3 separate regions of the Homo sapiens genome follow, and regions 1 and 2 are each linked to region 3. The links are contacts of gene promoters, found by promoter capture Hi-C in human tissues and cell types (Jung and others, 2019). All regions are on one chromosome and are shown on one strand. The core of a region is centred on a gene start or on the middle of the fragment in contact, and the rest is flanking DNA. Distances in the headings are between cores, read along the strand shown. Region 1 overlaps TRAPPC8 (trafficking protein particle complex subunit 8). Region 2 overlaps TRAPPC8 (trafficking protein particle complex subunit 8). Region 3 holds the start of RNF125 (ring finger protein 125).

Region 1 (3,632 bases), core at 725-3,224, 140 kb before region 3:
AGGGTAAACAATGAAATTAAGGCAGAAATTTAAAAAAATTTTGAAACAAATGAACACAGAAACACAACATATCAATACCTCTTGGATACAGCAAAAGCAGTGTTAAGAGGAAAGTTTACAGCACTAAATGCTTATATCAAAAAGACAGATCTCAAATTAATAATGTCACATCTAGAGGAAACAGAAACAAGAACAAACCAAGCCCAAGCTGGCAAAAGAAAAGAAATAAAGATCAGAGCAGATCTTTATTCTTTAAATGAAATTGAGACCAAAGAAATCATACAAAGAATCAACAAAATAAAGTTATTTGAAAACACAAACAAAATTGATGAGACTACTAGGCAAGATTAAGCAAGAAAAAGAAGAGATGATTTTAATAAGCACAATCAGATATGACAAAGGTGACATCACAACTGATACCACAGAAATACAAAAGGTCCTCAGAGAATACTATGAACCTCTATGCACACAAACTAGAAAACCTAGAGGAAATGGGTTAATTCCCAGAATCATACAATCTCCCAAGACTGAACAAGGAAGAAACTCAAATCTTGAATAGGTCATTAAGTAGTTACAAAATTCCATCAGTAATTAAAAAAAAAAATAAATAAACAACCAAATGAAGCCCAAGATAGCTGGATTCAAAGCCAAATTCTACCATATGCACAAAGAAGAGCTGGTACCAATTTTACTGAAACTATTGAAAAAAAAAATATATATATATATATATATATATATATATATTTTTTTTTTTTTAAGGAAGAAAGATTCCTCCTTAACTAATATCATCCTGATATCAAAATCTGGCAAGGACATACACACAAAAAGAAAACAAGTCAATACCCATGATGAACACAGATGCAAAAACCATCAATAAAATACTAGCAAACCAAATCCAGCTGGACATCAAAAAGTCAAATTAATCACAATCCAGTGGGTTTTATTCCAGAAATACAAGGATGGTTCAATATTTGCAAACCAATAAATGTTACTCACCACATAAAGAGAATTAAAAACCATATGATCATCTCAATAGATACAGAAAAAGCATTCAATAAAGTCCAAAATCCCTTCATGATAAAAGCTCTTAACAAACTAAGCACTGTAAGAAACATACCTAAAAATAATAAGACCCATATATGACAAACTCACAGCCAAAATCATATTGAATGGGGAAAAGTTGAAAGCATTCCCCCTAAGAAGGGGAACAAGACAAGGATGTACACTCTGCACTCACACCACTTCTATTCAACATAGTACTAGAAGTCCTAGCCACAGCAATCACGCAAGAGAAAGAAGAAAAAGCATCCAAATAGGAAAAGAGGAAGTGAAATGATCTTTGTTCAATGATGACAAGATCCTATACCTAGAAAACCTAAAGATTCCTCCTAAAGACAGTAGTCATTAGGATAAATGACTTCAGCAGTTTCATGATACAAATTTAATGCACAAAAATCAGTTGTGTTTCTATACAGTCATAAAACTCAGGATGAGAACCAAGTAAGAACTCAATCCCATTTACAACTGCCACACACACACAAAATAAAATACCTGGAATACATTTAACCAAGGAGGTAAAAGAGAACTACAAAACACTGATAAAAGAAAGTACAGACACAAACAAAAGAACAAAAAAAACCCACGCTCACAGATAAGGAAAAATCAATATAGTTAAAATAACTATATTGCCCAAAGCAATCTACAGATTCAACAAACTATCTATCAAATAAATAATGTCATTTTCCACAGAATTAGAAAAAACTATTCTAAAATTCATATGGAACCAAAAAAGAGCCTGAGTAGCCAACAAAGTCCTAAGCAAAAACAAAGCCCGAGGCATCACATTCCCCAACTTCAAACTACACTACAAGGCTATAGTAACCAAAACAGCATGGTACTGGTACAAAAAATAGACACATGAACAATGGAATAGAATACAGAACTCAGAAATAAAGCAGCATACCTGCAACCAACAGATCTTTAACAAAGTCTACAAAACTAAGCAATGGGGAAAAGGACTCCCTATTCAATAAATGGTGCTGGGATAACTGGGCTAACCATATACAGAAGAATGAAACTAGACCCCTACCTATCACCATATGCAAAAAATTAACTGGAGATGGATTAAAGACTTAAAGATAAGACCTCAAAGTATAAAAAAATCCTAGAAGAAAACCCAGGAAATACCCTTCTGGACATCACCCTTGGCAAAAAATTTATGAGCAAGTCCTCAAAAGCAATGCCAACAAAAACAAAAATTGACAACTGGTACCTAATTAAACCAAAAAGCTTCTGCACAGCAAAAGAAACTATTAGCAGAATAAATAACGTCCAAAATCTGAGAAAATACTTGCAAACTACACATCCGACAAAGGACTAATATCCAGAATCTAAAAGTAACTTAAATCAAGAAAAAAAATCAAATAATCCCATTAAAAAATGGGCAAAGGACGTAAGGTACTTCTCAAAAGATACACAGGCAGCCATGAAAAATATGAAAAAATACTGAACATCACTAATCATTAGAGAAATGTAAATCGAAACAATGAGATACCATCTCATACCAGTTTAGAATGGCTATTTTAAAAGGCTATGGAGAAAACAGAACAGTTATACACTGTTGGTGGGAATGTAAGTTAGTTCAGCCAGTGTGGAAAGGAATTTGGAGGTTTCTCCAACAGATAAAAGAGAACTACCATTCAACCCAGTAATCCCATTACTAGGTATGTACCCAAAGAAAAGTAAATTGTTCTACCAAAAAGACACCTGTATTCTTATGTTCATCACAGCACTATTCACAGTAGTAAAAACATGGAATCAACCTATGGTGCTCATCAATGGTGGACTGTATAAAGAAAATGTGGTACATACACACCATGGAATATGACACGGCCATAAAAAAGAATGGTATCATATCCTTTGCAGCAACATGGATGGAGGTAGAGGCCATTATCATAAGTGAAATAAATCAGAAATGGAGAATCAAATAGGCATGCTCTCACTTATAAGTGGGAGCTAAACAATGGGCATGCACGGACATAAAGAGGAAATAATAGACACTGGGCACACCAAAAGGGGAGAAAGAGGAAGGGAAGGAAGTGAGGGTTGAAAAACAACCTACTGGATAATATATTCACTATTTGGGTGATGGGTTAGTTCTCTGAAGCCCAAATCACAGCATTACACAATATACTCATGCAGCAAACACAGACATGGACCTCCTGAATTTGTAATTATTTTTATTTTTATTTTTTTCGAGACAGAGTCTCGCTCTGTCGCTCAGGTTGGAGTGAAGTGGCACGATCTCGGCCTACTGCAACCTCTGCCTCCTGGGTTCAAGCGATTCTCCTGCCTCAGCCTCCCAAGTAGCTGGGATTACAGACGCATGCTATCACGCCTGGCTAATTTTTGTATTTTTAATAGAGATGGGATTCCACTATGTTGGCCAGGCTGGTCTCGAACTCCTGAACTCGTGGTCCACCCACCTCAGCCACCCAAAGTACTGGGATTACACGCATGAGCCACCATGCCTGGCCTCTGTAATTACTGTTTTAAAAGAGGTACAGCCAGGCGCAGTGGCTCACACCTGTAATCCCAGTACTTTGGGAGGCTGAGGTGGGTGGATCACGAGT
Region 2 (4,116 bases), core at 1,213-3,712, 190 kb before region 3:
AAAGCCAATTGATTCTCAGAGAAGTTTTTTTTTTTTTTGAGGCGGAGTCTCGCTCTTTCGCCCAGGCTGGAGTGCAGTGGCGCTATCTCGGCTCACTGCAAGCTCCGCCTCCCGGGTTCACGCCATTCTCCTGCCTCAGCCTCCCCGAGTAGCTGGGACTACAGGTGCCCGCCACCGCGTCCGGCTAATTTTTTGCATTTTTAGTAGAGACAGGGTTTCACCGTGTTACCCAGGATGGTCTCGATCTCCTGACCTCGTGATCCACCCGCCTCGGCCTCCCAAAGTGCTGGAATTACAGGCGTGAGCCACCGCGCCCGGCCACTCAGAGTAGTTTCTTTGATTTTTGCTGAGCTCTTGTATAGAAAACCAACCTATGTTGCAATTGATAAGCGAGAATAATTTTAGTATGAATGCTGGTTGATATTTCTGTTTACATTAACGAGGAAGAGGAAGTGAGAAAACACATGTTGGATCTTCACTAGTTCATCAGTGATACGGGCAACTTCTTTGTTGAACTGGGTAAAACTTTTCAGATACTGCAGGAATATTTTCCTAAACTATTTGTGCTACTCGTTACAGCTACAAATATGCAACACTTTTAATATGCATCACTAACATTTTCTCCATCACTTTCTTAGGTCTAGCGTAGACAACAAAAATAAATAAATCAAGCCCTGGTGTGTAGCATTTGCTGGTTTTCCTGAGGTAAACATTCTACTATCATTGATTTCAAGCTACCAGCAAGTCACTGAATGTAGGGTTGGCAAGAGATGAGCAGAAACACACCATTGTGTAGTATTTCCAGGATACAGATAAAATAGACATAAATAATCCTGAGTAATATTCAGGAAGTAATTTTGAGTGCTTTATTACCTTTATTTTTAATATATTCAGTTGTAGGTTTATATAGTTTAATTTTTTTATTAGTGTCTGTTTAACAATCGGTTCAATTTAATATTCAGCTGAGTGGTTTAAATATGAGATACCACTGTGATTATGCCTCCTCATTCTTGTCTTTCCTCCTCAGACTTTTTATAAGCCCATGGCCCTAAACTCTCAAGAAGGAAATGAGTGTCCTTAGAATGTGACCTTCCTCTCCAACTTGTCCCACACCTGCTAAGACACAGAGTGGAAGGAGCTGAAAAGCCAGAGACCCACTTAAGATCCAGAAGCATAAGCAGCAGTTGCAGAGAGGCACACAGACTAGCCACCCATCTCTCAAGAAGAGTTGTTCCAAGTACAGGTTTGGAATCTTCAGTCTGAAAACGGGGTCTTTTGATCTCTCCCCACTTTGGTGCAGTCTGCTCCGATTAGTGCCGAGATTGAGACTGGAACAAACCATGGTAGCTGTCAATGGCACAAGGACCCCATCTGCTCCAGACTTGACTGACCCTGGCTCTTGTACTCCCTGCCACCCACTCCTACACCCTGTCTTCCCTCCTTCTCCAATGACAAGAGATATTCATTGAAACAACCTTGCTCCCATTTCTCTATCTGCAGCAGGGCTGAATTGAAATTTCTTATGTCCAAATGCCCATTCTCTGAATAAAAAAATATTTTGAAACCAGACTTTCTAATCAACAGATACTAATACGCTATACAGTGAATAGCATGTCTTTATTCTATTTACAGTATATTTGTTATAAATATAATACATTTTTGAAAAGCTTATTTTTAATTAACTTGAGATTTATATTTTAAACAGATCAACTCAATAGTTAACGTTATATAATAAAGAATATGGTAATTTTAATGACAAAAATCGTATTGTGAAATAGCGCACTCTATACTGAGATGAATGAGGGGAAAAAAGTCAAAACTCCTTTCAAAACTATATTCAAAGCATCAGAAAAAATTTTTTTTTCTTTTTACAAAGTTATGTATAAGTCATAGGGACCACCAAATACTGAAATATGAAGACTCTATGACCAAAGTTCAAAACTGATTTTAAGGAACTGTGTGAAGCAAGACAGGAAAATTTGTATTTAACACTCTATAGAACTTCACAGTAAAGCTGGAATTTAGAGACTAATGGCTTAACAGGAGTACTGCCAACAAGGCCTTTCCTTTCTCAGAATCATCTCCTAATATTCGTATACCATTGACAAGTTGTAACAGCAGACTTAGACTTTGTGTTTTCTTAAGATGGGGCTTAATAAGGTGCACAAATATGCTGATATCCTGTATTATGAGCATGTAAATTATTCTCAGGGTTTAAAGAAATACAGAAAAAGAATGTTAAGTATTCTCAGTCCAACGTGCTTTGCATCATCAACAAAATGACAAGTCAAAGTATTTTGCAGGGATCAGATATCAATCAACCTCCATAACAAGTTAGGTATATCAAATACTGCTGTAAAACCCATCCAGCAAAAACTGATTATTGTGGATTTCAGTACAAATTTCCAAGTTGTCACACATTACTGATGATGATCAGGGCAGGCATGGAATTCTGCTGACTTGTTTCAAACACTGTAACTTGGTCCGATAACTTGGCAAATACCCTAGGAGTTCCAAGGTTATAAACACCTGTATGAACAAAGCATGCTTTCAGCTGCAGACTGTGAATCTCCTGGCTTTTAAGTTGAAGTTTATACTGTGTTTGTCCAAGCCATGTGAATGATCCATGGATTTCCAGTGCTTCTGGACTAAGGGAGGAGGAAAATGTAAGTTGCAGGATTTTTTTCTTTTTAATTTTTTTCCCAAAGTCACATTAACATATCCCTTTCAGCTGGGCGCGGTGGCTCACGCCTGTAATCCCAGCACTTTGGGAGGCTGAGGCAGGTGGATCACCTGAGATCAGGAGTTCAAGACCAGCCTACCAACATAATGAAGCCCCGTCTCTACTAAAAATACAAAATTAGCCAGGTATGGTGGTGCACGCCTGTAATCCCAGCTACTCAGGAGGCTGAGGCAGGAGAGTCACTTGAACCTGGGAGGCGGAGGTTGCAGTGAGCTGAGATTGCACCACTGCACTCCAGCCCATGAGAGAGCAAGACTCCATCTCAAGAAGAAAACAAACATCCCTTTCATCTAACAATTCTATTTCTAAAAATTATTTTATGAAGCCAACTGTTTATTAATAATAGCAACATCATTACTATAACAGCTAACATTTATTATTTAATAGTTTCTATTCTCTAGGCACAATGCTAAAAGTGGATTATTTCATTTAATGCCCTAAGAGTTAGTATATGTTGGAACTTGATTTCAAACCTAAACTTTTAACTCCTTAGTTAGCCATATATAAGTGTCTGTACATGAATGCTTTTAATATTGAAACTGTTTATAATATTGAAAAATGGAAAACCCAGTACCCAATAAAGTATTAATAAATTTATGATACACAAAATCACATATATAGGTGTGTGTTTGGATTTCAGAGAACTGTCCCAGATCCTGTTTGGGGTGTTATACAAAAATATTAAGTATACGCTTTATAGTATTTTTCCAAAAATTCAAAAATTTCTGAATTCCCAAAAGCATTTGGCTCTAGGAGTATCTGATGTGGGACTGTGGATCTGGATTTTTTTTTGTTGTTAAGTACTATTTTATAATCAAGAAAAAAAAATCTTTAATATTTAAAGCCTCTGTAACACATCTGTAAGCCTTCTATATTACCAAACAAAAAACCAGGACAAGCTTGAGTAACTTTCTTATCCATGTTAGGTAATTATTTGCATAATTTCAAAATATTAAATTGCTCCCAAATCAAATAACCTTGCACTAAACAAATCTTTACCTTGTTGTTTTATGCCGAAGATCAACTATGACATCTACATCAGCCTTAGAACAATTGGAAAGTAAAAGAGTGACTGGTACTAAACAAAGGCTATGGAAGAAAAATAAACAAAAAAGTTATATATTTTTTTCTTCTTAAAAGCAATTTTCCTGAAAATAACACTTAAGACTATGTAACAGAGCATAAGCTCCTTAAAAACAATCAGATTCAAGAAGGAAAAAGCTCAAGTTCCAAAATCACTCAAGACAAATTATATTGTAAATAAAAAATATATTAATACAATGACAATATTAAATATCAGAATATATACATTCACAGAACTATTTTATTTTCATTTATTAATCTTCTAAAAACAACTAAAATGTTTCTAGATA
Region 3 (3,654 bases), core at 1,096-3,595:
GAAGTGAATAATTAAGAAATGATGACAAAATGTAGAGGATCAGATCAAGAGATTTGGCCTTGAAGCGGATATGGGGCAGGAGTTGAGGCATAAGTGGGATGAAAGGGAGGTTTTTGTTTTCCTTTTGAAGATGGGAATAACTACCTTTTCATCTTATTTCCCCCCCCCCACCGCCTGCCCCCCACCACCCATGCTCCAGCTCCATAGGTCTTTCCTTTCTTTGGTTCTGCCTCATTCACTGTTCCCAGTCCACGCTTTTTCCTAAATCTTTGAATGGCTCACTTCTTTTCATTATTCATGGCTCTGCTCAAATGTCACTTCATCCAAAAATTCTTCTCTGAGCTTATTCTTCTCCTCATTGCCATTTACTGTTTTATCTTCTTCATGGCTCTGATTATCTGAAATGATTTTGTTCATTTGTTTATGGATTGATTACATGTATCTTCCTTTTGTTTGTTGTTTGTTTTTGAGACAGAGTCTCGCTCTGTTACCCACGATGGAGTGTAGTGGCATGGTCTCGGCTCACTGCAACCTCCACCTCTTGGGTGCAAGTGGTTCTCCTGCCTCAGCCTCCCAAGTAGCTGGGACTACACGCATGTGCCACCACACCTGGCTAATTTTTGTATTTTTAGTACAAAAATTTTTACTAAAGAAATGTATTTCTAGTAGAGACGGGGTTTCACTATGTTGGCCAGGCTGGTCTTGAACTCCTGACCTTGTGATCCACCTGCCTCGGCCTCCCAAATTGCTGGGATTTCAGGCGTGAGCCACTGCACCCAGCCTGTTTTGGTTTTTTGAGACAGGGTCTCCCTCTGTTGCCCAGGCTGGAGTGCAGTGGCATGATCTCGGCTCACTGCAGCCTCCACCTTTCCGGTTCAAGCGATTCTTGTGCCTCAGCCTCCCAAGTAGCTCACACCCAGCTAAGTTTTGTATTTTTAGTAGAGACAGGGTTTCACCATGTTGGCCAGGCTGGTCTCAAACTCCTGACCTCAGGTGATCTGTCCTTCTTGCCTCCCAAAGTGCTGGGATTACAGGCGTGAGCCACTGCCCCGGCTTGGTTTGTTTTTTGAGACATGGTCTCACTCTGTCGCACAGGACGGAGTGCAGTAGTGTGATCTTGGCTCCCGTGCTCAAGTGATCCTCCCACCTCAGCCTCCCAAAGTGCTGAAATTACAGGCGTGAGCCACGGTACCCGGCCTATATCTCCTAATTAAAAGTAAAGCCTGGGTGAAGTTTATGGCCTGCTAAATACGTACATGTATTATATGCGTTATTATATCCCATGTGTTATATTATATATTATTGTATATGTGTATTATATACTATGTACTATTCTTACAACTGTATGTGAATCTATAATTATCTCAAAGTTTTGTTTTTGTTTTTTAAAGTAAGTTCTGTGAGAACTGGGATTTTGTTTGCTTGTTGACGATTGTGTCTTCATCACTAGAACCGAGTCTGGCGTGCAGTGGGCACTAAATAAGTCTTCGTAAAAAGTGTAAATTAACGCCCGGCTAATTTTTGTATTATTAGCAGCGACGGGGTTTCACCATGTTGGCCAGGCTGGTCTCGAACTCCTGCCCTCAAGCAGGAGTTTCAAGCCCGCCTCGGCCTCCCAAAGTGTTGGAATTACAGGCGTGGGCCACCGCGCCTGGCTGATCATGTTTAAAGGGCGGGGTGGGGAGCGTACAAACAACAGAGGAAATCCTGAGCCGCAGAGGAAACTGGAGATGGCAGGGTTTAGCACTAGAATCTCTGTAGGAGAGGTAAGATTGGAATCCTAATCTCCAGGACTCTTTCCACTACCCAGGCTATCTCTCCATTAATGGACTATTGATTGGATGACAGAGTAGCGATAGCACCGTCTTAGGAGACGCCCAATCATAGGTCATAGGTCATTTTTGCAGCTTATTGTGATGACAACAGTGGAGGATGGTCTTCCACTTCACCTTAAAAGCGGCTGTTCTCTGATTATCATTAAGCATGGCCACGCCCGCACTTAACTTCTGACAGTGGGGAAAGCAGCTGTGTGTGATAGCTTGGAAGGTTTACTGCTGCCTCAAGTCCTCTTCTCTGCAGTTGAGGTTTCAGGTTTCAATCCTCCCAATACCACAAGACAGAGCACGGGGCGGCTGCCGCCTCCGCCTCCGCGCCTTAACCTAGGCGGCTTGCCGAAGATCTCAGCCCCGCGGCCGCGCGCTCGCCCTGCCCTAGACCAGGGTTGGGCGCAGCGGCGGAGGTGGCTTCTGGGCTGCGCGAGCTGGGAGAGCTGGGAGGCGGCGATCGCAGCTGGGCCGGGACTTCCTTCCTCCACCGCACGGCAACAAAACAACCCTGCGGCAGGCACTGAGTGCTTCGCAGCTGTCTGGGCGAGAGGCACAGCGATGGGCTCCGTGCTGAGCACCGACAGCGGCAAATCGGCGCCCGCCTCTGCCACCGCGCGGGCCCTGGAGCGCAGGAGGGACCCGGAGTTGCCCGTCACGTCCTTCGACTGCGCCGTGTGCCTTGAGGTGTTACACCAGCCTGTCCGGACCCGCTGTGGCCACGTGTAAGTTCCAGGGGAGCTCGGTTTGCGCCCACCCCTAAGGAGGGCGATGTGGGGAAGCTGAGGGCATGGTGTGGGGAAGGAGGGGGACGGAAGACAGCCTCTTAGGAAATTGCTGCAGGGAGAAACCTGGACCCGTCGGATGCAGGACCACGGGGAAAACGCGGGTCGGAAGGTGACACAGGATTTCGGGAGGAGAAAAAATAAACAAGCGGGTCCTGTAGCCCCCTTGCGCTTTCAGCTCCCGAAGCCCAGGTGCGGAACTCCAGAGAAGGGGATCCAGGCACGGGTCCCGCCCAGAGCCAGGGCTCGCCAACTGGGGAGGGTGCTCTTGGCTGGAGAACCAGCGCTCGCCCAGGCACGGAAAGGAAACGAGCTCCAGCTACAAGGCAGGGGCTCCCGCAAAGCGCAGTTACCCCGCTGAACACGGTAGAACGGGCTGCGCTTCCCTCTGCCCCAGAAACCCGGGTCCGTTTTGTTTTGCTGGAGCTGTGCACGTGTTCCCAGAATGCCCACAGAGGCTCGTCTTAAGCAAACAAGGATCTGTGCAAAGTGTCTTTCCACCCCCACCCCTGCTACCCTTTCCCAACACAGACACCCAGCCCCTCAAAGGGCAAGTCAAACTGGAGCTTCCGAGTGACTTTCCACAGTTGTTAGAGTTTAACAACCTGCTAGGGTGGGGCTTGGACGTTAGCCGCCAAGCCCCTGAATGTACTCCTTCAAAACCCAGCCACAACGTAACAGGAGGTGGCAGGCTACCTGCTTTACGCACGGTCTCTCCAAACCGGCGGAAATTACAGAGTAAAATAACTTTCTCAAAACCGCATAGTACTTAGCTAAAACTCACAGTTGGTGCAAAGCCGTGGTCGTTTCTAAGAAGAATTTAAAAACAAAGTCCCTATATAAAATTGGCACATCCTTAATGTGTGTTTGAATAACTGGTGGAGTTGGAGCTGTGAATTTGTGCTCTCTGTTTACTGTGTGTGTGTGTGTGTGTGTGTGTGTGTGTTTGAGAGAGAGAGAGAGAGACGTAGTCTGGCTCTGTCGCCCAGGCTGGAGTGCGGTGGTGCTATCTCGGCTCACTGCAACCTCCGCCCACTGCAACCTCC

What was found. The method cuts DNA at HindIII sites, captures the fragments that hold promoters and counts their contacts. A contact is called where the count stands out against the background at its distance.
Region 1: a fragment that was not itself captured here is called in contact with the fragment with the promoter of RNF125 in region 3 in 1 of the 25 tissues and cell types used here (mesendoderm cells).
Region 2: a contact is called between a fragment that was not itself captured here and the fragment with the promoter of RNF125 in region 3, in 1 of the 25 tissues and cell types used here (mesendoderm cells).

What each region holds. Positions count from the first base shown.
Region 1 is chr18:31,879,379-31,883,010 of GRCh38, forward strand. All of the region lies in intron 12 of TRAPPC8 (trafficking protein particle complex subunit 8), which reads right to left. Among named protein-coding and RNA genes, the nearest start is that of TRAPPC8, 62 kb to the right of the region's middle. The HindIII fragment of the contact is 6,100 bases long and covers 1-3,632 here.
Region 2 is chr18:31,828,342-31,832,457 of GRCh38, forward strand. TRAPPC8 (trafficking protein particle complex subunit 8) reads right to left here. Exons shown (of 29, transcript NM_014939.5): 28 at 3,743-3,832; 29 at 856-2,648. The coding sequence ends at 2,414. Among named protein-coding and RNA genes, the nearest start is that of SLC25A52, 70 kb to the left of the region's middle. The HindIII fragment of the contact is 4,013 bases long and covers 457-4,116 here.
Region 3 is chr18:32,016,480-32,020,133 of GRCh38, forward strand. It overlaps RNF125 (ring finger protein 125), which reads left to right and starts at 2,346. Exons shown (of 6, transcript NM_017831.4): 1 at 2,346-2,548. The coding sequence starts at 2,385. RefSeq lists enhancers at 1,668-2,540, 1,947-2,241, 2,541-3,413, 3,058-3,107 and a silencer at 1,947-2,241. The HindIII fragment of the contact is 18,790 bases long and covers 1-3,654 here.